Linked DNA regions of Homo sapiens: all the other regions are linked to region 4. The links are contacts of gene promoters, found by promoter capture Hi-C in blood cells and fetal thymus (Javierre and others, 2016). All regions are on one chromosome and are shown on one strand. Each heading gives the region's core, a stretch centred on a gene start or on the middle of the fragment in contact. The rest is flanking DNA. Distances are from core to core; before and after follow the strand shown. Region 1 has its middle 82 kb from the start of UBE2U. Region 2 has its middle 4.6 kb from the start of MIR101-1. Region 3 overlaps UBE2U (ubiquitin conjugating enzyme E2 U). Region 4 holds the start of RAVER2 (ribonucleoprotein, PTB binding 2).

The links. Contacts are between HindIII fragments. The CHiCAGO score rates a contact against its expected background, and 5 or more counts as called.
Region 1: a contact is called between a fragment that was not itself captured here and the fragment with the promoter of RAVER2 in region 4, in 3 of 17 cell types (neutrophils, M1 macrophages and M2 macrophages). The highest score is 7.1, in neutrophils.
Region 2: a contact is called between a fragment that was not itself captured here and the fragment with the promoter of RAVER2 in region 4, in 1 of 17 cell types (fetal thymus). The highest score is 5.1, in fetal thymus.
Region 3: a contact is called between a fragment that was not itself captured here and the fragment with the promoter of RAVER2 in region 4, in 5 of 17 cell types (megakaryocytes, M0 macrophages, M2 macrophages and 2 more). The highest score is 6.9, in megakaryocytes.

The regions. Positions count from the first base shown.
Region 1 is chr1:64,282,586-64,288,162 of GRCh38, forward strand. No RefSeq gene overlaps it. Among named protein-coding and RNA genes, the nearest start is that of UBE2U, 82 kb to the left of the region's middle. The HindIII fragment of the contact is 1,986 bases long and covers 2,141-4,126 here.
Region 2 is chr1:65,060,095-65,066,216 of GRCh38, forward strand. It overlaps a transcript of JAK1 not described here. Among named protein-coding and RNA genes, the nearest start is that of MIR101-1, 4.6 kb to the left of the region's middle. The HindIII fragment of the contact is 764 bases long and covers 4,103-4,866 here.
Region 3 is chr1:64,260,046-64,266,208 of GRCh38, forward strand. It overlaps UBE2U (ubiquitin conjugating enzyme E2 U), which reads left to right. Exons shown (of 10, transcript NM_001366232.2): 9 at 558-649. Among named protein-coding and RNA genes, the nearest start is that of UBE2U, 60 kb to the left of the region's middle. RefSeq lists an enhancer at 2,586-3,785. The HindIII fragment of the contact is 6,631 bases long and covers 875-6,163 here.
Region 4 is chr1:64,742,874-64,748,356 of GRCh38, forward strand. It overlaps RAVER2 (ribonucleoprotein, PTB binding 2), which reads left to right and starts at 2,202. Exons shown (of 12, transcript NM_001366165.2): 1 at 2,202-2,548. The coding sequence starts at 2,300. RefSeq lists silencers at 1,856-1,955, 1,976-2,175. The HindIII fragment of the contact is 6,103 bases long and covers 1-2,928 here.

The DNA.
Region 1 (5,577 bases), core at 1,884-4,383, 460 kb before region 4:
CTGTAGAAAACCGGTTTTTTCAGTGGCTTTGTAACCCAACCATTTTTGATCACATCAGGACTAAACCTGGCAGCCAGCTTGGCAGCTTGTGCACAAATTGCATACAAAGGCAGATTGTTTAGCCTTTATTGTAATTCAAAGCAACTTAAGGAAAAGGGAGGGACAAAAAGAAAAGAAAAAAGTGAAAGAAAAAAATAAATCCAATTATATTATATAATTACATAACACAGTGAACTTCTAATTCTCTTTAAGGAAAATACAGAATCAATTAACCTTTCTGTCTGTTTCCTTTTTCTCTCTGTCTCAAAGTTTCTCACACATGCACACACACACACACACAATAGTAGAGCAGACAAATAATGAATTCCAACTTGAAATCTTTTTTCCCTGTCTTTTTTTTTTTCTTTACCAACAACATCTCACATTCAAGGAGAGTTGGAGAAGTAAAAATCAGGAAAATCCTGAGGGAAAAGAGCATGTTTAAAAGATTTTAGAGACAAGGAAAAGAAATAAGAGTGGGTCTGAGACAGTGAATGAGAGGATGAAAAAAACTAAATGAGCAGCAATAAGAATGGGCATCTTAAAATCATCAGATTAAGAGAGTTTGTGGAGTTAGAAATTATATAAATCAAATGACTAGAAAGTGTTAGATTTCTAATTCTCAGAAAGTGTTACATGGCAAGCTAAGTTTTGGGTCTTCCTTTTTCAACTTGACCAAATATCTCTGCCCTTTTCTGTGTCCTTCTTGGGTCATGAATGCTTGTATCTCAGAGTAGTGCCTATTAGAGTCTCTGCCTATGTGCCAGACAGGCCATCTGACTAGAGCCATGTTTTACACTTAGGCCTTCTTCTCAGCTGCCTGGATAAACTAGTGTGTTCATGAGGATGTTAATATGCTCCCATGTCATGTTCGCATTGTTCTGGAGAGATGTACAGGCATCGTATTAGAAATTCTAGACACCTGGGCAGGTCTGTTGGGGAGATGTTTTCTGCATGAGCACTCCGTGTGTTTGATCATATCATAGGGTGATCCATGATTCATTTATAGCAGAACAAACCTTGTTGGGTATATATCATTAAGAAGGGCAATGGCCAGGTGCAGTAGCTCATGCCTGTAATCCCAGCACTTTAGGAGGCCAAGGCAGGAAGATCACTTATGCCCAGGAGTTCAAGGCCAGCCTGGGCAACATAGCAAGACTCCATCTCTACTTTTATTAAAACAAATAAATTATATTTTTAAAAAAGAAGGACAAGCGCAGAGGCTTATTGGCATTGAGGGTCAATGAATGGCCTGAATTATTAGGGTGTGCAAATCGAAATAATGTAGGATTCCAATGAGGGTGGGTTTTGAAGGCACTGACTATGGATTCCAGGGCAGGGAGATAGCTAAGTGGCAAAAGACACAAGTGAATTAAACCAAAATATTGGACACATGGCCAGGTAGTTAGGCAGAAAATGAGTAACTAAGTTATAAAATGAGTAAATAAGAAATCCAAACAAGCTAATCATAGTTTAAACTTGAACCCAGGGATGGATAAGGAAATAAAACAGAAATTTTAATTCAACTGAACAACCATTATGCCATTATGTCCTTGGCATGTGTTGGATTCAAAATTATAAGACACAGAGCTTACCATCCATATTTCATTTTCTTTTTCTTTTTCTTTTTTCTTTTTTTGCGACGGAGTCTCGCTCTGTCGCCCAGGCTGGAGTGCAGTGGCGCCATCTTGGCTCACTGCAAGCTCCGCCTCCCGGGTTCACGCCGTTCTCCTGCCTCAGCCTCCCGAGTAGCTGGGACTACAGGCTCCACCACCATGCCCGGCTAATTTTTTGTATTTTTTAGTAGAGACAGGGTTTCACCGTGTTAGCCAGGATGGTCTCGATCTCCTGACCTCGTGATCCGCCCGCCTTGGCCTCCCAAAGCATCCATATTTCAGTCTCTTTTGGGGTGGAAGTGTGAAGTTGTGGACCACAGTGTATATATTATACGTGAAACAAGTAGAAATGGGTTTTTAACTGAGGAAGGGATGGGAAAGGGAAGCATAAGAATCACCTAAGAAGTTTTTTCAATACATATTCTAGACTTACTCAGAATCTCTGAAGGCAGATGGAGATAAAAATGGGTTTGCCTGGTTTGAAAAGCTTCCCGGGAGGTTCAGATGTATTGAATTAGACTGGTACTTGCCAGCCTTACCTGATTAAAAGAATCACCTGAGGAACTTATAAAACACTAGATTTATCTAATTCCACCCACCTCCAGAGTTACCGATTCACAGCTGGTCTCACATAGAGCACAGAAATGCATACTTTTATTTTTCTAAAAATGACAAATAAATTATATATATTTATTGCATATGGAATGGCATTTTGGTATATGTATACATTGTGGAATGGCTAAATCAAGCTAATTAACATATGCATTTCCTCACATATTTATCATTTTTTTTTTGTGGTGAGAACACTTAAAATCTAATCACTTGGCAATTTTCAAGTAGACAAAATATGTCAGTAACTATAGTCACCATGATGTACGATAGATTTCTTGAACTTAGTCCCCCTCTCTACCTGAAGTTCTGTACCTTTTGATCCACATCCCCTCAGGTGCCCCCAACCCCTAGCATCTGGTGACTGCCATTCCGCTCTCAGCTTCTGAGTTCAGCTTTTTTAGATTGCCATGAAAATGAGATCATGCAGCATTTGACTTTCTGTGCCTGGCTTATTTCACTTTTCTTTTCTTTTCTTTTCTTTTCTTTTTTTTGAGACAGAGTTTCACTCTCGTTGCCCAGGCTGGAGTGCAGTGGCACGATTTCTGCTCGCTGCAACCTCTGCCTCCCAGGTTCAAGTGATTCTCCTGCCTCAGCCTCCCAAGTATCTGGAATTACAGGCATGTGCCACCACCCCTGGCTAATCTTTGTATTTTTAGTAGAGATGGGGTTTCACCATGCTGGCCAGGCTGGTCTCAAACTCCTGACATCTGGTGATCCACCCGCCTTGGCGTGCCAAAGTGCTGTACAGGCTTGAGCCACCATGCCCAGCCTTCACTTATGTTCTTTATGTCCGTTTATGTTGTTTTAAATGACAAGATTTCTTTCTTTTTTAAGGCTGAATGGTATTCCATTGTGTATGTATCCCACATTTTCTTCATTCATTCATCCCTTGATAAACACTTAGGTTGATTTTAAATCTTGGCTATTGTGGCTAGTGCTGTAATGAACATCGGAGTGCAGATCTCCTCAACAAACTGATTTCATATCCTTTAAATATATACCCAGGAATTCCTGGATTACATGGTGGTTCTATTTTTAGCGTTTTGAGGAAACTCCATACTGTTTTCCCTAATCGCTGTACTAATTTCTATTCCCTCCAACAGTATACAAGGATTTTCTTTTCTCCACATCCTTGTCAACATTTGTTATCTTCAGTCTTCTTAATTGTAGCCATTGTGAGAGGTGAGAGGGGTGATACCTCATTGTGGCTTTAATGGGCAAGAAATGTGTATTTTTAACAAGTGCCCAGGGTGAGTCTTATAAATGGGTAAGTTTGAAGAATACGGAATTAGATAACACTCACTTATTCAAGAAATGATCATTGAGCACCATCTATCTTGTTGAATGCTGGAAAACAGAGGAATTATTAATAGATCCATCTAATGAGTGTGTATGCTCCAAAAGATTGAGAACAGAGAACTAACTGGCATGGGAGCCTGAATGAATGTCTCTTTGTCAGGAAGGGGCAGTCATCACGTCCAGTGGCCGTGCCACAGAGTGGTGAGAGCATGGGCTCTGGGCCACACGCCTGGGTTTGACTTCTAGCTGTGCCACTGCCTGACTGTGTAACCAGGATGCCTTATTTAACCCAAGTGTACCTCATTTGTTATAAAATGGAAATGGTAATAAGTCTTCTAGGTTGCTGTGAGGTTTGGATTCATACAAGTATTCAATAAATGCTATTACTATTATTGTATTTTACAGTGCCTACTGTCTAGAGTGCTTTCACAAGCATGGATTCATTTGATCCTCACAATAACGTTGAGAGATAGGCATTATTATAAATCTCATTTTACAAAGGGATGAGACAATTGAAGCTAAAAGAGATCAAGAAATCCAAACAAGCTAATCATAGTTGAAGCTTGAACCCAGGTCTCTAAACACCACGTACTCTACTTTCTCTTATGACAAAATGAGGGAAACAGATTACAGAAGAAGCCTTGAGTACCAATTTTACAAAGTTAAACTTTATTCTGCATCTCTTAGGAAACACTTAAGCAGAAGACAGACATGTTGAAATTAGTGATGTGGAAAGTTGAATCTTCTGGGGGTACATGGAAAATTGATACCAGCGAGGACCTTGAGAGAGAGAGCTCAGCAGTTGATTCTGAGGGTAAACAGGGCTTTACAGGATGAGGTTGGAGAGTGCAAATGGAAATAGAGAGACAGAGACTGAAAAGAAAAGGAAATGTGCACTAATAAGCAATGACAGTTGATATACAAAATGCTTGCAATGTGATTGTTGAACGTTCAAAATTACAGCTGCTGTTTTTACTTCTAATTTTTAGGATCAAAAACTGAGAAAGTTATATATATTATCTTGTTTATTCTGCACGCTTGAGTACTCTTTCTACAACTTTGCCTAGAGCTTTATATTTGCCAAGTTCTGTAGTCATTATTATTTATTGTTTCTCACTTCAAGGGCCCAAGGTCTCAGCACTCAACTCTAAAAAGTGATATTAGAATGCCTTAGGGACCTGACTGCGGAGAAAGCTTTTCAGCATCCTAAGCATAAATATTTTCCAAGTAAAAGCATTGATTGGGAAGCTTGAATGGATAAAATTAACTGCTGCAATCTTAAAGATGTCTGGTTCACATCCTGGATAAAAAGGGAAGAAGCTTTATGGAGCCTATTAATGTCAATATCAAATGACATGAAACAGCATTAAGCTAACCTCCTCTCCAAAAGCTCATCTATTCAGTTATCTACTATTCCTTAGTGTGGTTCAGTGTCCAAAAAGGTTCCCCATTGTACAACCAGGTGGGAGTCATATGCTGCCTGCCTCCTTGTCAAGTAATGGATGTGATTTCAAGAGAGATTAAATTGATAGCTAAAGGTCACATGGCTAGTAAGTTACAGAGCCAATATTCAAACCAAGTCCTCATATCGATCTTTATTGCTCTTTTAGGCTTTCTGAGAAACTTGGCATTGAAAAATAATTTTTAAATAAAGTAAAAATGTTTAATTTCCATCATTTAAAATAATGATGAAAAAACTCAAATAGCTGAGAAGTGCTCAAATCAGAGAGCAAAATCACCCTCCCACGCCCCTCAGAGATAATCACCAGTCCAAGCTGATGACATCCTACCATCTAATGTGTGTAAGCATGTGTACATGTAAATCTATGTAATGTTCTCTTTGAAAAAAATAAGAAGGACCATTCTATTCATGTACTTCTACAACCTACTATTTTTTTCCTCAACACCAGATCCCAGGCAGCATTAACATAGAGATCTGCCTTGTTTGCTTTCAAAACCGTTTTCCAATACAACAAAATCTATTTAACTAATTCCCTATTGATGGGCATTA
Region 2 (6,122 bases), core at 3,235-5,734, 320 kb after region 4:
AATACAGAGTTGAAACACGAGAGGGCAACGAAGATTAAAGAAAAAAAAAAAATCACAGTTGGATCCCATAACCTAAGGTTCTTGGAAATAGTTGCACATTTTTACCCGAATTATAAACATCTGCTACGTGAACAAAGATACTGTGATTATTTTAGAGTAAAATTTTAGATAGCTGTTCCACGAAAAAGGATAAGATTATCAACTAATATTTCTTGACCACAATTCTGTCAGCTTTGGAAAACTGAATACTTACCCTGAAACACTGAAGGTTGGGTAAGTATGGAGACAAATAAATAATCCTGACATATTTGTAGTTATTAGACTGTTCTTCACCAAAATATTAGTGTGATTCAATGTCTAAATATGAAGTATAAAGACGAAGGAAGTGTACTGCAAAGTTGAAATTCACTCTACTAGCCATCACCAAAACCCATGCAACAACTAAACATTTTTGGTAAAGTAAAAGATACTTCCTTTTTCTCCTTATTTTTCTCTCATTTCATTTTTTTACCTAAATTAGAAAAAAAAAGAAGCCAAGCATCCCTAATAACAAGCAGCAAATTGTCATTATTCTGTGAATGGTTACTTAAATTAATATTCTCTCAGATTCTAAAGCAGTTTCAAGGAAGAAAAATATGGGTTTTCAAAATGGTATTTTTAAAATAAATGTTTCAAAAATGTGTCTTGCTTTTTCTTGAAAATGTTTATAAACGTGCATTTTTGAAAATTTAAATCCATCAGAAATATTTCTTCTTCAACATGTTTCGTCTAAGAACTGAACTGTCTAAATTTATAAACAAGTGACTACAGGTACTCATGCTACAGTAAGAAAAAATAACTGCATACTAAGGAAGAGAGAAAACAGTGATGTAAAATGCTTTCTTCCAGGACCCAAACTGATTTTAAACTACTTCTTCTATGTTAAAAATGATACAACTAGGAACAATTTCTTCATAACGCATATACCAAATATTATCTACAAAACCAGGCACTTATAGAAAACTGGCACACCAAAGAACTTTTAAAATAACGTGGAGTACAAGGCCAGGCATGGTGGCTCACACCTGTAATCTCAGCGCCTTAGGAGGCTGAGGCAGGAGGATTGCTGGAATCCAGGAGTTCAAGACCAGCCTGGGCAACATAGTGGAAGCCTGTCTCTACAAAAAATAGTATGAGCAGGGCCAGTAGTCCCAGCTACTTTGGAGGCTGAGGTGGGAGGATTGCTTGAACATGAAAGGCTGAGGCTGCCATGACTGCACCACTACACTCCAGCCTGGGTGACAAAGACCTTTTCTCAAGCGATCAATCAATGTGGAGTACAAATAAAAGCACAAAAAACATGCTACATCCCTCATATTTATAAACTAAGATGAAAATATTGTTTTAAACCTTTGAATATCTGATTATATATTAAATAACTGAAGGCACCGTAAGTTGTTGGCCAAGCAGAATATTTGAAAATACTTTTAAACTATAGTTTAGTGTATTTAAATCCACTGGTCTTTTAACTAGTGTGATTTGTTTTCCAATTTGAAAATTATCATCTAATTCAGTGATACTATATAAAATGGCCAAATTTGACCACACTGAGATGTTATAAACTGTCAGCAAAAGTTGCTCAAATGTCCAATACTGCTTTGTCACAAGTACACAGAATGTATACTTGCATTTTATTGCAAAACTTTGCTATACTGAGTTTTTAAAAACTAATTTGTGCCAAAGATTGATGAGGTGGCAGGTTACAGAATTTTTTTCTCTTTTATGGAAAAAGAAATAGGCAGAAAGGCAAGAAAATGTCAAGGACCACCGCCCTATACAAAGTTAGCCCCAATTCTCAAAGAGAAGCATTAACTGAGAGTGATTAGAGAAGAGGTGTCATCATTTTACTGACTTTGAGCACTGGCCCTAATTAATCTCATGCTATGTAACTTTATAAGGTCCATGTGGACGAAAAAAAAACCCTATGGACACGGTAACAAAGAGAAGACTGAGCTTTCTTCCTCATGTTGACCAAGAGTTTAGTCCAAAAAGGCTCCAGGAGACTAAAAATTTATAAATACATGACTGGCCCATATATTACATTATATGGGCCTCTCCCCTTCAAACATGTACTCAGCACAAATATTTTTAGTCCAACTGTATACTCCACAGTTAATTTACTTTCTGATTTTGCTCTACATCACATTTCACCACTCTCACCCCCCGGATTTTAGATTTTATGGTTTGCTCACAAGTCAGTTTTATATGCCAGCTAACTTCGGAATGATCCACCCCTGGCTAAACATCTCTAAAAACCCTGATGGTCTCCAATTAATCTATGATTGCCTTATTACTACAGCACTGCCATTTGAAAATGCTGGGTCTCAGATTTTCAAATTCCCTTAATGGACAGCTAAAGGAGCCAATACCAAAGACTTGCAATGACCTCCAATTCTACAGCCTTGGGCTGTTCCAGGAACACAATTACACTCCACTTCCCTGCAGGTTCCACCCTTCTCGAAGCTTCTATTCCTACATCTGTAAAATGAACACATTTCTACTAACTAGTAACACATGCCACAGTGGCACTGCACTCATTAAGTGCTGTGTTGTATACTGCAATTTAATTTGGTGCTGTTTATATCTTATTTCCTCAAGTCAACAGGACTCTTTCTAAAAAAGTCAGAAACTGTTTTACTCATGTCCCTTCACAACACTTAGTGGTCATTTCCACAAAATGCTAGCTCAACAGATACTTGATTGATTGATTAATTGATGAACCTCTCCATTTCTCAGGGAGCCTCTAAACAGTTATCAACAAGAGTATGTTTAATTCCAGTCTCTGTCTATATGGTCTTAGGTGAGGTGTTTGGCAGTTTGTCATCTATAAAATAAAGGGATAGCACCGAATAGCTCCTAAGTTCCTTCCAGTGCAATTTCTGAATCTCATTAGACAAAACAAAACCCAAAGACAGCACTACCTCTATTCACGTTAGCATTGTACTTTTTTTGGAGGAAAGGAGTCAGCAGCCTTGTGGGCCCAAATGCCACGAGTGGAGCCGTGATTTGGTGGGGAGGGGGACAGAAAGTAGATGAAGCAAAGAAAAAATAAATGGAAGTGAGTGACAGATGAGTAGAATCACTAAAATGCCACCAGGTGTCACAATTGTTACTTTGCCACACATTGTTTTCCGGTACCTTTTGCTATGTTCAGGATCCTTTTACAAAAGCAGCAATAGCCGGGTATGTGGGTATCCCAATTTTCCCATGACACCCCTGCTAGCCGTTCTAGAACCCTGGACTTTTACACTAATCTCCCTAATATAACAGTAATAATGTAATACTTGGGGTCCCCAATCATCACATGGAACACAGCAGTGGAAAATAGAAACACAAACATGAAATAACAATATTTCATACAGTCACCACTTTTGAAATTAATCCATGGGGCTAGGCACAGTGGCTCATGCCTGTAATCCCAGCAGTTTGGGAGGCCAAGGCGGATGGATCACCCGAGCTTAGGAGTTCAAGACCAGCCTGGCCAACGTGGGGAAACCCCATCTCTACTAAAAATACAAAAAATCTGCCGGGCGTGGTGGCACACACCTGTAGTCCCAGCTACTCTGGAGGCTGAGACAAGAGGATCGCTTGAACCTGGGAGGTGGAGGTTGCAGTGAGCCAAGATCGCGTCACTGCACTCCAGCCTGGAAGACAGAGAGAGACTCTATCTCAAAAAAAAAAAAAAAAAAAGAAAGAAAAAAAGAAAAGAAATTAATTCATAGATGAAAAGGAGTAATGCAGGCCTGAGCTGTCCAATGAAGTATATAATGCAAGCTACACATGTAATTTTTAATTCTCTAGTAGCCACACTAATAAACAGGTGGAATTAATAGCATATTCATTTAACCCAATATATCTAAAATATTATCATCTGAACATGGAATCAACATAAAATTAATGGGCTATTCTACTTTTTTTGCATTCTTTGAAATCTGAAGATTACTTTGCACTTACATATCCCAATTCTAAATTTTCATCAAAATACTTAATTTGCGTTTGGATTTCAAAACACTTAGTTTCAAAAGTAGATGCGTAAGCTCAAGTATGTTTCCAAATATAAATAAGCTTTCCAATAACTAAATCAAGTTATCAAAGTCTAAAATTAAATAAAATTTAAAATTGAGCTCTTCCTCACCCTAGCCATATTTCAGGTGGTTAATAGCCACGTGGCTAGTGGCTACCATATTAGGGCAGGTATCCTGTCTCTGTCACCTGGATTCTTTTAAACCCGAACCAGAGTAAAAGATGTTACCCCATCAACCAGAAAGTCATCTTACAGCACCCACCAAGTGCTCAAATTATACCAAGTATTTTCTGCTCCACTTCCAATCTTTAAGTTGTCAACACTTCAGTGATTATCGTTTATTAGGTAGCCCTTCCAAAAGACTGAGTATTTTAGCTCAGAGAGGAAAGCATATCTCAATTCAGGGACTGAATGGAGACACTGAGTGAGATTCAAAGACAAGAAGTTAATTTCCAAGGTAGAGGTGGAAAATCCTGACATCCTTACTTCTTTGTCCAGGGTATCAGTCACCTACAAAAGTTACAATTATTGTTTATCACAATTATTGTTTATGAGCCTCTCAACTTACATACTCACAGCAGCTGTCACTGCATCCTCAGGTTCTCTGTCTTCAAGTGCCCTCCTAGCTTCCTGAAACAACCTTCTCTATCTAGAGCAGATTCTGCAGAGAGGCCCCTCTTTAATTCATATTCTGAAACGTGCTTGTTATTGTTGACGTACAAAAACTTATGAATAATTCAATAAATGAATCTTGAACCATCCTATTTATCATTCAGTGGTCTAGGTACCCAACTCTAGAGGAAAGCTTTTCTGAAATACACGGTAAGTATCCCCCAACCCTCCCTCAAAGGAACCAATTATGAACACTATACAGTCTTCTCTCCCTTCTCACTCCCCATGTCAAAGTTCATTGTGTTCCTCCTGCAGCTGATTTAAAAGTTGATCTTTTCAAGGAGCTGGATTCCTAAGGTAGTTCTATTTTGAGCCTTCTTCCTGTTCTGAAGCTAAAGTTGGAAGGGCTTAGGTGGTGATGTCATGGAAGGGAGACTGTTGGTTTTTATAGGAGGGTCTTCTCTGGCAACTCTGGGGATGCTCAAATGGGGAAAACTCAGAGTGTTACTTTTGATCTTTTCCCCCCTCCTTCCCTTTATAGAATATCAGCTATTCCTTAGCCAGCAAGAAAACAAGTTCAAATAAGCCTGCAAACAGATTTACATATTTTACATGCTAAACATCTAATAAATGAAAAGACTGAGAAAAAGAAAAATGCCTCACTGTAAGGAACAGAGGGTGACAACCTCTTTCTCCACCCCTCTCCCCAAATATCTATCACAGAACAAGGGGCAAAGAGGAGGGGAGGGTCGACTGGTAAGCAGAATAAAGGGATTATAAAGCTAGGAGGCTTTTAGAGGGAAACGCTGTTGGAATATTCAGGACAGGAGACCCTTGGGTCCCTGCTCTTCCTCTGTGTTTTCCTCCCTTTTGGAATGGTTAGACTTGGGCTGGGTGTGTCTTCTGCTTGGGAGGCGTTTTTTTTGGCGCTGGAAAAGCAAAAGGGGCCAGGGTGGGGCCTGGGGAAAGAAAGCCAGAGACAGGCTGCTTAGGCCTGGCTCTGGGTTAAGCTTAAGGGGAAAATAAAGGGGGCTACGGAGGGACAGCAGATTCCATTAGAAGACCCAGAGGGGAATAAAAAACAGCGCACTGGCCAAAGGGGGTCACTTCTCTCTCTCCCTCAACCTAGGCCCAGGAGCTATTTGCTGGTTGGTGGGGGACAGGTCCAGAGGGAAGAGAAAATCCCAAAACATCTGCAGATCACAACTTGCCGGGGGAAAGGGGGGCTGGGGACAGACATGCCAAATTAAATCAGCAGGTGAAAGCAGCAATTTTTGGCCAATGCTGGGATTGCGGAGAGGACTAACTAAGAACCCTGGAGAGCAGGGGATTCCCTGGTTTCTCAGCTCACCTCTCCTTCAAAGCAGGGATAAGCACAGGTGTGGTCTTTCTCCAGGAAGGTGGCAGCTGGCGTGCGGGTAGCAGAGTGAGGGAAAGAATTCCTCGC
Region 3 (6,163 bases), core at 2,940-5,439, 480 kb before region 4:
ACGGAAAAGGTCATGTGACATTGGAAGCAGAGACTGGAGTGATGCAGCTATAAGCCATACAATGTAAAGGATTGCTGACAGCCAGCAGAAGCTAGGAAGAGGCAATAGAAGATTCTTCCCTAGGGCTTTCCGAGGGAGGGAGGCCCTGCTGCCACCTTGATCCCCAACATCTAGCTTCCAGAACTATGAGAGAATACATTTCTGTTATTTTAAGTCACCAAGTTTGTGGTCATTTGTTAAGGTGGCCCAAGGAAACTAATATACCTTGCTATACCACATGATGTTTTTATTACTTTTACTATGATGTTTTTTACTATGACATAAGTAGTAAACATGTCATATTCATTTGCTTTTCCAACTTCTATTCTGTTGGAAAGCACATATTGAAATAATTTTACTTTACCATTAAATTAGTCAAGACTCAGAATGGTTCCATATTCAAAGCCTATTGTTCTACTTTTATGTTTCATTTCATTTGTTTCACTTATTTTTCTCAGAAGTAAATATACCCTTACCAAAATTCATTTGGGAATTTAGTTTTCTTTTTCTCTTTCTAGGTATTCCGTTATCAAGTGTTGGCTTGCTAGAAAAAGAATGCCTCATGAAGTCACTCACTCAATGGAAGAAATTAAGCTCTGCCCAACTCTAAGTAAATCGATTCACTCTATTTGTTTTGCTTTTATAAATAACATATTATGCATAATATGCATAACTTTAAACTTTTTTCCATTTAAGTAAGTTGGAATATATGAGGGCTAATCCTTGTGTTCTCCTTTTAAGGTTGCTTTAACTTTTTCTGACTTTCCAAATTAATTTGGTAAATTAGTCACATAGGAATTGGAACTTTGACAGAATTGAGTTACTTATATTTTCAAGCTTACTACCCTTTAATAGGTTGATATACAATTTGAAATTTTAAGGCTAAGTTTCAAAATATGAAAAAGCAGCCAAAACACACAGAGCACTAATAAACTGATCCCTAAAACTCATTGTATATTCAAAGGTATATGCAATATGGTTGAAAAGAAAGAAACAATGCTGAGTTGTTTTTCGTGCTCTTTTAAAAATTACCATTTACTTGTTGGGATAGGTTGAGAGTGAGTCTTCAGCCGGGAGAGCTGGTAACTTACCATGGAAGTCAGCTGGTATAGAGGGGAAAGCATGACATTTGGGGATAGAGAACTTAGGTTCAGATTCCAGTTCTGTGCTACTATGGAAAGGTCACTCAACCTCTGAACTTAGTTTTTTTCATCCTTAGCTAGTACTGTGTATGTGGAAGATGTTCAACAAATCCTAGTTGCTAAAAATCTGCCCTTACTCACAGGATTCTTATGACTAAGTGACTCCATGTATAGACAATTTCTTTGTGAACTGAAAAGTACAAAAAAAAATAGTTACTGTTTTTTCCTGTCACCTGGCCACTAAACATAACAGCATATAAATGCCAGGCACAGGCAATCACCTTCATTCAGTGATTCTCCAAGGGCCCTGCCCCCGTATCTCCAAGTTTCTTTTCCCTGCTCAGTATCCACCTCTCTCCCTCCTAATTGTTTGGTGTGCCACGCAGATTTCCTCCTCTGTATTATCAGCCTCAGCCTTCTCCATTCAACTCTCCCTTCTTCCAGATTTCAGGGTACCTGTGAGGTAGGAAATGTTGCCTTCTCCAGCCTTGCTCTTTGCTTTCTCCATGATTTCCCTACTCCCCTCTGCAATCTCTGTCTTTCAACATCCCCACCATGTTCACCAGTGGAAGAGATCAGTTGGTTAAGTTGATGTGATTACAGTAATTTTTGTCTATGCTTTGTCAGACTGGTGACAAAGCTATGTCTCTATAGCTCAGCTCTGCTTATGTTTTTACCAGGTCTAAAATACTTTGTTTCCCATTTTCCTTCAGGATAAAATTTAGACTCTTTGACACAGAAAATCCTTAATGCTCTAATACTTGTCTCTGTCTTTGCAGTGACATTCCCTCCCTCTCCCCTTCACAACCTAAATGCTACACTAAGCTAGTGGGTCATGATTGTTTGTTCCCTACCTCATTTCATAAAAAAATTTGAGCAGTACACTGTGTTTTCTCATACCCCTACTCTAAATGCTCTTCTCTCCCCTTCTTTACTTTCTAATGCCTATGCATCCTTTGAGATTCAGTTCGGGTATTACCTTTTTTAGGAAACTTTCTTTGTGGGTTATCATAGCACTTCTACCATAGCCGTATCATGCTCTATTTGTTTTCTATTGCTGTGTCACAAATTAGCACACATTGAATGGTTTAAAACAACACACATTTATTATTTTACTGTTTCTGTGGGCCTGGAGTACAGGCACAGCTTAGCTGAATCCTCTGCTTAAGGTCTCAGAAAGCTGCAATCAAGGCTTTGGCTGGGCTGCATTCTCATCCTAGTGGTTTGAATGGGGGAGGAATCTGCTTCCCAGCCCAGTGAGGTTGTCGACAGAATCCATTTTCTTCTGTCTTTAGGAATGAGGGCCCTGGCTTCTGGCTGGGTATATGTGGGAGGCCTCCCTCAGCTGCTGAGGGCTGCACACAGTTCCTTGCCATATGGGCTCTCCCAGCCTGGCCTCCTACTTTATCCAGCAAGAGTCTTTAGAGCAAGTCTGATAGCAAGATGGAGTCATATGTGATGTAACATAATCATGTGAGTGAGACCTTATCACTTGCATCCTATTTTATTGGTTAGAAGTCATGGGTCCTATCCACACTCAGAAAGGAGGAGTTTACACTCAGGTGTAAATACCAGGATGCAGGGATTCTAGGGGCCATCTTGGAGTCTGTCCGGCACACATGCTGTGTTATTACTCTCTTTACTGCCTGTCTCCTTTGAAAAAGAGTGAGATTCTTGAGGGAAGGGACTGCTCACCTCCCAGTCTTCCACAGCACAGTGGTTGGCATACAGTAGCTATCAATGAGTAAGTAAATAGTAGGATGAAGTAAAATTGTCATGTTTTTATCTGCCTTGTGATTTGGGGGAAAAAAAGGTGAAAACCCATGATAAGTGGGGAAAAGGCAAGTTGGAAGAGACAACATTTTAAGTTTAATGTCCAGAAACTGGTTAGCGCTCCAGTGCTGAGCCTTGTCCTCTTTAATCATGGAATAGACTCCTTTCTGTCTACTCTGGAAGAAACTATACCTGAGAGGTTGTGGTAAATTTGATTATTGTTCAGAAATATTAATTCCTGCTCCACCTACATGAACAAAACATGTTTCCTTGTGCCTTGACTTTGAGCTTTTCCCTGTGACCTGTTTTCATCAGTGGAATATTAGTGGGTGCAGTGTGCCCCCAGGGTTTGGAAAGGGTTTGCATGATTTGGCTTGCTCTTTTTCTCTTCTGCCATCATCACCAGAGCGTGCCTGGACTGGCCCTCTGATCACAGAGAAAGATTCAAGGCATAGATCTGAGCTTGCCCACCCACGTTTCCCAGCCATTCCCCAGCCAAAGAAGCCAACCACCTATTGACCTGCTGACATGTGACCAAAACAAATACTTATTGCTGTATGTCACTAAGATTTTGTGGTTGTTTATTATGTAGCAAGAGAGTTATTATGTAGCGAGAATGAACTTATATAGGATATCAAAGGGAAGTATGACTCAGAAAAGGAAAGAATTGTGTGTCCCTCTTTTGCAGAGAAGGATGGCATGTCATAGTTTGCCAGTGGGAGAAACTCACCAGAGATTTGGCAGGTGGGAGGGAAGTTGAGGACATTATGCTTGGGAAGTTGTTCATATCAGGCATGGCGGGTTCCTCAGATATGGCATTTTCACACATCTCTCCACAGCCTCACTTCACAGACATGGTGGCTGCACAAATATCCCCATGAACTCATTGTTTTTGTCCCACTTTGGGTGGCTAAATGTGTGCAGCCTCTTGTACTCTATGAGCTCCTGGTTTCCCACTCGTGTCAGTGCATCAGACTAAAGTGGGTCACGACTCTTTTTTCAATTCTCCAGCTGTAGCTTCCAGATCTTCACTCCCCTGGGTCCTCCCACAGCTGGATAATCCCACATTCCTGTGTTAGACTCTCACTCTTGTATTACTTGTAGTGGCTCTGTTTTCCTAACTGAACCCAGGCTGAAAACAGGACTGAATAGAAATAAACCATTTGGCAATCATCAAAGCCCATCAGTCAGCACAGATTTTAATATCTTTATTAGCTAAACTATTTTCAGATTAAAAATAAATTATCAGAGGCAGAGTTTCCATGATCCAACCCAAGAAAGGCATGGAAAATATAAGGCAGTTAGAATTTGTGCTTCCATAACTTATTTTGTTAACATAGTAACAAAATCCCCACCTTTATTACTGATTCCAACCACCAAATCCAAGGTGTCTCAGAGAGATTTATAATGCTTAAGATTTCCTGGAGGAGAGAAATTCAAAATAATATTGTTTTTTATGTTCTAAAGAAACATTTCTATATTTATTTTGCATTATAGTCTGCTGATCTAGCCAGGTTTCTTTTTATGCTTCCTGGGAGTTTTTAACAGGGCAGGAACTAAGAAGGCAAATAGTCAAGGTGGTTGATTCCCAACTTTCATTCCACGCCAGCAACTCACGTCAGCCAATCATGGTGATCCCATTTCCCTTCCCAGTAACTAGTTTAGAAATGGGGCGGGGCGCAGTGGCTCACGCCTGTAATCCCAACACTTTGGGAGGCCAAGGTGGGTGGATCACCTGAGGTCAGGAGTTTGAGACCAGCCTGGCCAACATGGTAAAACCCCATCCCTACTAAAAAAAAAATTAGCTGGGCATGGTGGTGAATGCCTATAGTCCCAGTTACTTGGGAGGCTGAGGTGAGAGAATCACTTGATCCCAGGAGGCAGAGGTTGCAGTGAGCTGAAAGCACGCCACCGCACTCCAGCCTGGACAATGGGAGTGAAACCCTGCCTCAAAAAAAAAATTAAATTAAATTAAAATAAAAGAAATGGCATGTGACAGGATCCTGCTTGAGGGGAAATATGCTGGGCACTTCAGGGGATGGTTTTGCCGTCCACTCTTAAAAATGAGATCTTGGTGAGAAGATCGCTTTTTCCCCTGGATGTTGCTGTGTCCGGTGTGGTTACTAGAATGGCCGTAGCTCTCTTGCTATGCACCTGAAGATGAAGACAACACCTCAGTTAGCAAAGCAAGCAGTAAGAAGAGCTGTGTCCTTCGTGACATTGTGGAGTCACTGAAAACATTCAGTCTTGCTCTCCACTCTGGCTTTTCTCTTATGTGAGATAAAACACTCTCCTATTGTTTAAACTGGGTTGACTTGGCTTTATATTTCTTGTAATCAAAAGCATGTGGAGTCAGAAAGGCCCAAGCATGGTTAGAAAGAACTGGAGTTAGTCCATCAATAATATGTTCATGGAAAATAAATAGATGCTTTTCTCAAGGCACAGACAGAATTTAGTTTTAAATTAATTACAACTAAATATTAGTACCGAAAGTACAAAAAATTAAAAATCACTGTGGGCCTCAGGATAACCATAGGATAATGGTGACTGTGTAAACTCACATCTCTCTGTGTATCTTTCTCTCTTTGTTTTGTTTTGAGAGGGAGTCTCACTCTGTCACCCAGGCTGGAGTGCAGTGGGTCAATCTCAGCTCACTGCAACCTCTGCCTTCCGGGTTCAAGTGAGTCTCCTGCCTCAGCCTCCAGAGCAGCTGAGATTACAGGCTCCTGCCACCACACCCGGCTAATTTTTGTATTTTAGTAGAGACAGGGTTTCACCATGTTGGGCAGGCTGGTCTCGAACCCGTGACCTCAAGGGATCCACCTGCCTTGGCTTCCCAAAATGCTGGGATTACAGGTGTAAGCCACCATGCCCGGTCTGTCTGTGTATCTTTCTATAAACCAAAGACAGAAGGAAAACAAGTCACTTGTAGCCCATGTCTATAACATTAGAAGACAGCAAATATTACAGGGTTTATTTCATGTGTGAGGGAAATAAACATATGAGGCAAACAAAATTTGTCCTGGAACCCATAATCAGCAGTGAATCCGGTGACAACTAGGAAAAAGGGAAGAGAATGCAGTGAGATTTTAGAGTTAACAGAACATAAATAGTACCAGCTAGAGTTCATCCCCAGAAAGCAAGGTCCCCATGCTGTGTAGAAATATACATCTAGAAATATAGACATTATATCTATATTCTCCTTTTGA
Region 4 (5,483 bases), core at 952-3,451:
GCAAAATGATACATTAATACTAGAATATCATGGATGCAAGCAGAGAAATAAGTGCTCTTATACAATGCTTGTGATAGGGAAAACTGAGGTAAGTTTGTAAATACATACAAAAAATCCTTAAATATGCTTACTCTAGATGCAGAAATTTTGCTTCTAGTTCTTCACTCTGTGGAAAAGTAATGATCTTCAAATATGTATAGAGGGTTAAACTCAGTGCTGTTTACAATAGATAAAAATAATAGGAAATACTAATGCTAGGAAATAAGTGAATTTTCTAATTCAACAGAATAATATGCAGCCATAAAAACCATGGTATTCAAATACATTGGCATAGAAAGGGATTCAGCAGACATACTGTAAAAAGCAGAAAACAGAGCTGTAAACTACAGAATATCATTCAAAAACATTTTTATGCAGTAATAGTCACGTAATAAAATTAATATTTTAAAAGTGAATAGTTCAGTGACTATTTAGTACATTCATATTATTGGGCTACTGCCCCCTCTGTCTAGTTCCAAAACTAGATTTTCATCATTCCATAAGGATGTTTGCACCCATTACCTTCTCCTCCAGCCCTTGGTAAACACCAATCTGTGTTCCGCTCTATGAATCTACCTATTCTGATATTTTATACGCATGGAATCATACAATATATGACCTTTTGTCTCTGGCTTCTTTCATTTAATGCTTTGGAGGTTCGTCCACCTTGTAGGGGTCCTTAATTCCTTTTTATGGCTAAAAATATTTCTTAGCATATATATATCCCACGCTTTGCCTATCTGTTCATCAATAAATGGACATTTGGGTTGTTTCTATCCTTTGGTTACCAGGAATAGTGGTGGTATAGAAGGGTGTATTGCCGAATATCATTTTAATGATACAAGTATTAGCAGCCATTATTTTTGGGTGGACGGATTACGGGTGAATTATTTTATGTTATTCAGAACACTGGGCTTTGGAATCAATCAGAACAGATCCCATTTCCTCACGTGTAAAGTGAGGAAAACAAAACCTACGTAATTGAATGATCATGAAGAGTAAATAAATATGTATATGTAAAGCATTTAGAAATGCGTGGTTGGGGGGAGCACATGGTAAGGACTGAATTTGTAGTATTTTTAAAAAATCTTTAAAACATTTTGTTTTTCTTTTAATTAGTGTTAAAGTCTTTTTTTTTTTTTTTTTTTTTTTTTTGCTAGTGTACTTGCATGCTACACAATTAAGATGCATGGTCCCCTTCGCTGATGGTCACCTGGGCTAGTGCCAAAGGCTGCTGGATTGTTTGATCTGATGACATCCGTTTGACTAAGTATAGTTCTACACTGTAACTCTCCCTCCAAGTTTCAATTAAAATAATGTTCCAAGCAGCGTATTCTCCAGCCCCTCTGCCACAGCTCCTTTTCCATTCTAGTCTTTGTTTCAGCATCACTTTCCATGTTGCAGACCCAACTACCCAGGTTTTACATTTTAGGAACTGCATGACAGGGACAGAGGGACAGGTGAAGGGCACAGGCTTTCTCATACACAGCTAGCAAAATACATTACGATCAGGTTTTACCAAATACATAACATTTCTCCCACAATGTCCCTCTTTTTACTCCCCAGAAAATCTCATTGTAAACTCAAACTTTGCCAAATATGCTCTTCTTGAACCAACAGAAGGGTTACCATCGGGAGCCAGCCGGGCTGCAGGAGGCGCCCTCCTGCCACCCCTCCAGCCCCATCTCGGGTGTGGGAAGACCGAGTTCGCGCCCGCAGCCCCCGGGCCGCCCCAGCGCGGGAGTTTCGAGGGGAGCCGGGGGAGAGCTGCGGCGTCACATGGGGGGCCAGCCGGGGACAGGCGCCTGGGGCTGAGTCTCCCGGCGAAGCCACCGCGAAGGGGCCGCATCCCCCAGAGAACGACCCTGGGCGTTCGCGAAGGCCTCGCAGAGAGGGGGAGCCCGCCTGCGCGTCCGCGCCCTCACAGGTGTCCGGGTGGCGGCGCCCGGCCCCGCCTGCGGACCCGCGAGAGGCGGGCGCGGGCGCGCCTGTGCGCCGGGGCCGGGGGCCGGCGGGGGAGGTTCCCGCGAGGTGGTTCTCGGGCTCCTCCTCGGCGCCTCAGGTTTCCTCTCCCCGCCAGCAGGCTGCTGGCTGCGGCGCCGCCTCTCTCTACTCCCTCCTCCCACCGCCCCCCTTCCCCGCGGTTGGGCCCACTCTGCGGCCTCTGCCCGCCTCGCCCTCGCCCGGGCCTCCTCCCGCTTTCTCTCTCCGCTTCCCCTGGAGCCTCCGAGGAGTCCGCAGCCGCTGGGCGCCCGGGAAGATGGCGGCGGCGGCGGGAGACGGCGGCGGCGAGGGGGGCGCGGGCCTGGGCAGCGCGGCGGGGCTGGGGCCGGGGCCGGGGCTGCGCGGGCAGGGCCCCTCAGCCGAAGCGCACGAGGGCGCCCCGGACCCGATGCCCGCCGCGCTGCACCCTGAGGAGGTCGCCGCGCGACTGCAGCGGATGCAGCGGGAGCTGAGCAACCGCAGGAAAATCCTGGTGAAAAACCTGCCCCAGGACAGCAACTGCCAGGTACTGGGACGGTGATAGGGGCGACGCGTCCCGAGGGGCGGCGGGGCGGCGCTCCGTGTCCAGGCTGGGATCGGGGGCGCCTCAGAGCGGTCCTGGGGAGTGGGTCGGCGCCGAGTGGTGAGAGCGGCCCCTCGGTTTGACTGAGTTCTTGGGGTTTCTAGCCTGCAGACGCCCTGCCAGGGAGGGGGGCAGATTGGGAAACTGAGGCTCTGAGTGGCGAAGCGGCTTCTCCAAGGTCACGGGAATCAGGGGCTGCTGCCTCCAAGTTCGGCCCGGTCTTTCCTTCCCCTACGGCCGTAGAGGAGTAGGAGGTGAAGGAGAGTGGAGGTGAGTTGTGGAGCACACATTTTGCGGGGGGGAGCGGGGGTAGAGGGGGCCGAAGCTTCGGGAGCACCTTGGCAGGGGCGAGGGCTCCAACGTATAGTCCCCGGTGCTCGGGAGTGCCATAGGGGGCAGGGGCACGAGAGAGCTGGGAGTGAGTTTCGCTGTTGTTGCAGAAGCACTTGCCCAAGTTTCTATGAAACAACTCTGTCTTCTCAGTTTGCTAAGGCCCCAGAATAGAGTTATTGCTGCGCTCCTTGGAGCCTTGCAGCCGCCTCCTGCTACGCCAAGTACAGTACTGGAGGGTTTGTTCTCAGTGACTTGGATGAGGTTTAAAGATAGCTACTCTGTGTATTTAATCCAGATTAACTGTTGCTTTTAAGATTAGAAACTCTGCATCTATTTAACTTTTTTTTTCCCCTGATTTCAAAAGCTGCATGCTCATTGTAGGAGAGCTAGGAAAGACAGAGAAGCACAAAGGGGACACAGAAATTACCCATATTTCTGATACCTGAAGATAACCATTGTTATCCTGGGATGTTGTTCTTTTCTCTTTTCCTATGCATATATATTTTTGTTTTATCAAAAGCTTGAAATCATTTCTTTGATTCTTCAGGATTTCTTAGCTGTCTGGATGTTCACACATGTTTCACATATAACCTGAATTTATATACTGCTCCGAGTGTGGTGGGCTGTCCTGGTAGTTGCGGATTTGTAGTTCCTCCTGTAACCGGATGCATGAAATTGCAAGAGGGCTGGCTATTGACAATTGCATGGCAGTTCTTCCATGTGACTTATAAAATAATGAGACCAATGCCCCATTACTATGTAATGAGACCTTACATAGCCATTCACAATAAATATGAACATATAACCTTATAACCCGTAGGCATGGGGGGCTATTTTGTTTCAAAATGCAGTGTCTGTCAGTATTGTTTATCTCATCTGTCTTTCAACTCTTTCCATTCCGCCATGGTCCACTTCCCATCTGTCAGGTAATGTTTTGTGATACTACCTGTTAAGGACACCTGCAATGGACTGATTTCTTGGAAGCAGCCTCCCCTGCCCATACAAATAGAGGACTGTAAGGGAGCTCAGGAAGGAGGAGGCTTGGAAGAAGCAGATGGCATTTTTTAAAAAAACAAATTTAAAAAATAGCAGCTCTTTGTATAGACAGTCTAGGAGGAGAGAAATAGAGAAGTATCTCAATGTCTTTGTAGAATGTCAGCTGTTTTTGTTATCACAATTCCTTGCATTAATTCTAAATATATTTAGACCCCAAATTGAAGACGTTCTGTCTATTCTTGCTTTGCTGTTGGTATCTTTCTCATTTCCCTTCGCAATAGACATGAAAAATATATCAAAGGGTCTAATAAAAGGAGCAGTTTTAATTAGTGATAGAAGCTTTCTCAGAATTACACTGGGATTTGTATTTTTGAGATTTCATCTACTTAAACTAATATTTTCATATGTTCTGCATGAATTTTTTTGTATTTTTTGTTTTAACAATTTCCCTTAATTATAATGTCTGCTTTTTCTTAGTGACTATATTTTACTGTCAACTTACTGATGAAAGTTTCACTTTATTTTATTTTGTGTCTTTTTGCTAGTAAGGCCTACATAAAATCACCTGTGCTAAAACTACATATTTACCCTTATGAAATGGTTAATATGGCTTTTGTTCAATTATTAAGTAATCAGATATTTTTGAAATACTAAGTTCTTGTTCTTTTCCAGAAGAGACTGTGTTTATTCATTCATTTCTTTCTTTCTTTTTTTTTTTTTCTGAGACAGAGTCTCGCTCTGTCATCCAGGCTGGAGTGCAGTGGCGCGACCTCAGCTCACTGCAACCTCTGCCTCCCAGGTCCAAGTGATTCTCCCTGCCTCAGCCTCCCAAGTAGCTGGGATTACATAAGCCTGCCACCATGCCTGGCTAATTTTTGTATTTTTTAGTAGAGATGTGGTTTTGCCATGTTGACCAGGCCGGTCTTGAACTCCTGACCTCAGGTGATCCCACACGCCTCGGCCTCCCAAAGTGCTGAGATTACAGGTGTGAGCCACTGTGCCTGGCCTCATTTCTTTATTTTAGAATATCACTTTAAGGATCAAAGACATTCATAACTCTAGTTCTCAAACTGTGTATTTATGTCTCTAGAAAATACTGATCAATAACTTACTAGTAGAAACCCAATAATTTTTTCTTAACATTTGAAATATATGAGTGTTTTCTTTATTAAATGTAGTTTTCATAAATCTCAAATTTTGTTTTATTTTTGGTATAGCAGATTTATAATAGCATCCCACAACTTTATAGTTCCTATAATTAAAAGGCATACTGAAAGTATTTTTAACTGGAAGCTTTTAGAGGTATGTTTATCAAATACCTTATAGAAGTACCGGCTCTAAAAAAAAGTGAACACCTTTATATTAAGTTCTCAAAAGCTTTCTCACTGAATAATTACTGTGCATTCAGTCAAGCCCTGTCTGGTCTGCCTAAGCTTTCTGGAATCTTCCTGGCCCTCTTTGTTTTCACAGCCTCAGCTCTGGTTCAAGTCCTTTTCGTCTCTTGTTCACTGTTAACAACTTTTCGGTTTGTCACCTACCTTCATTACTG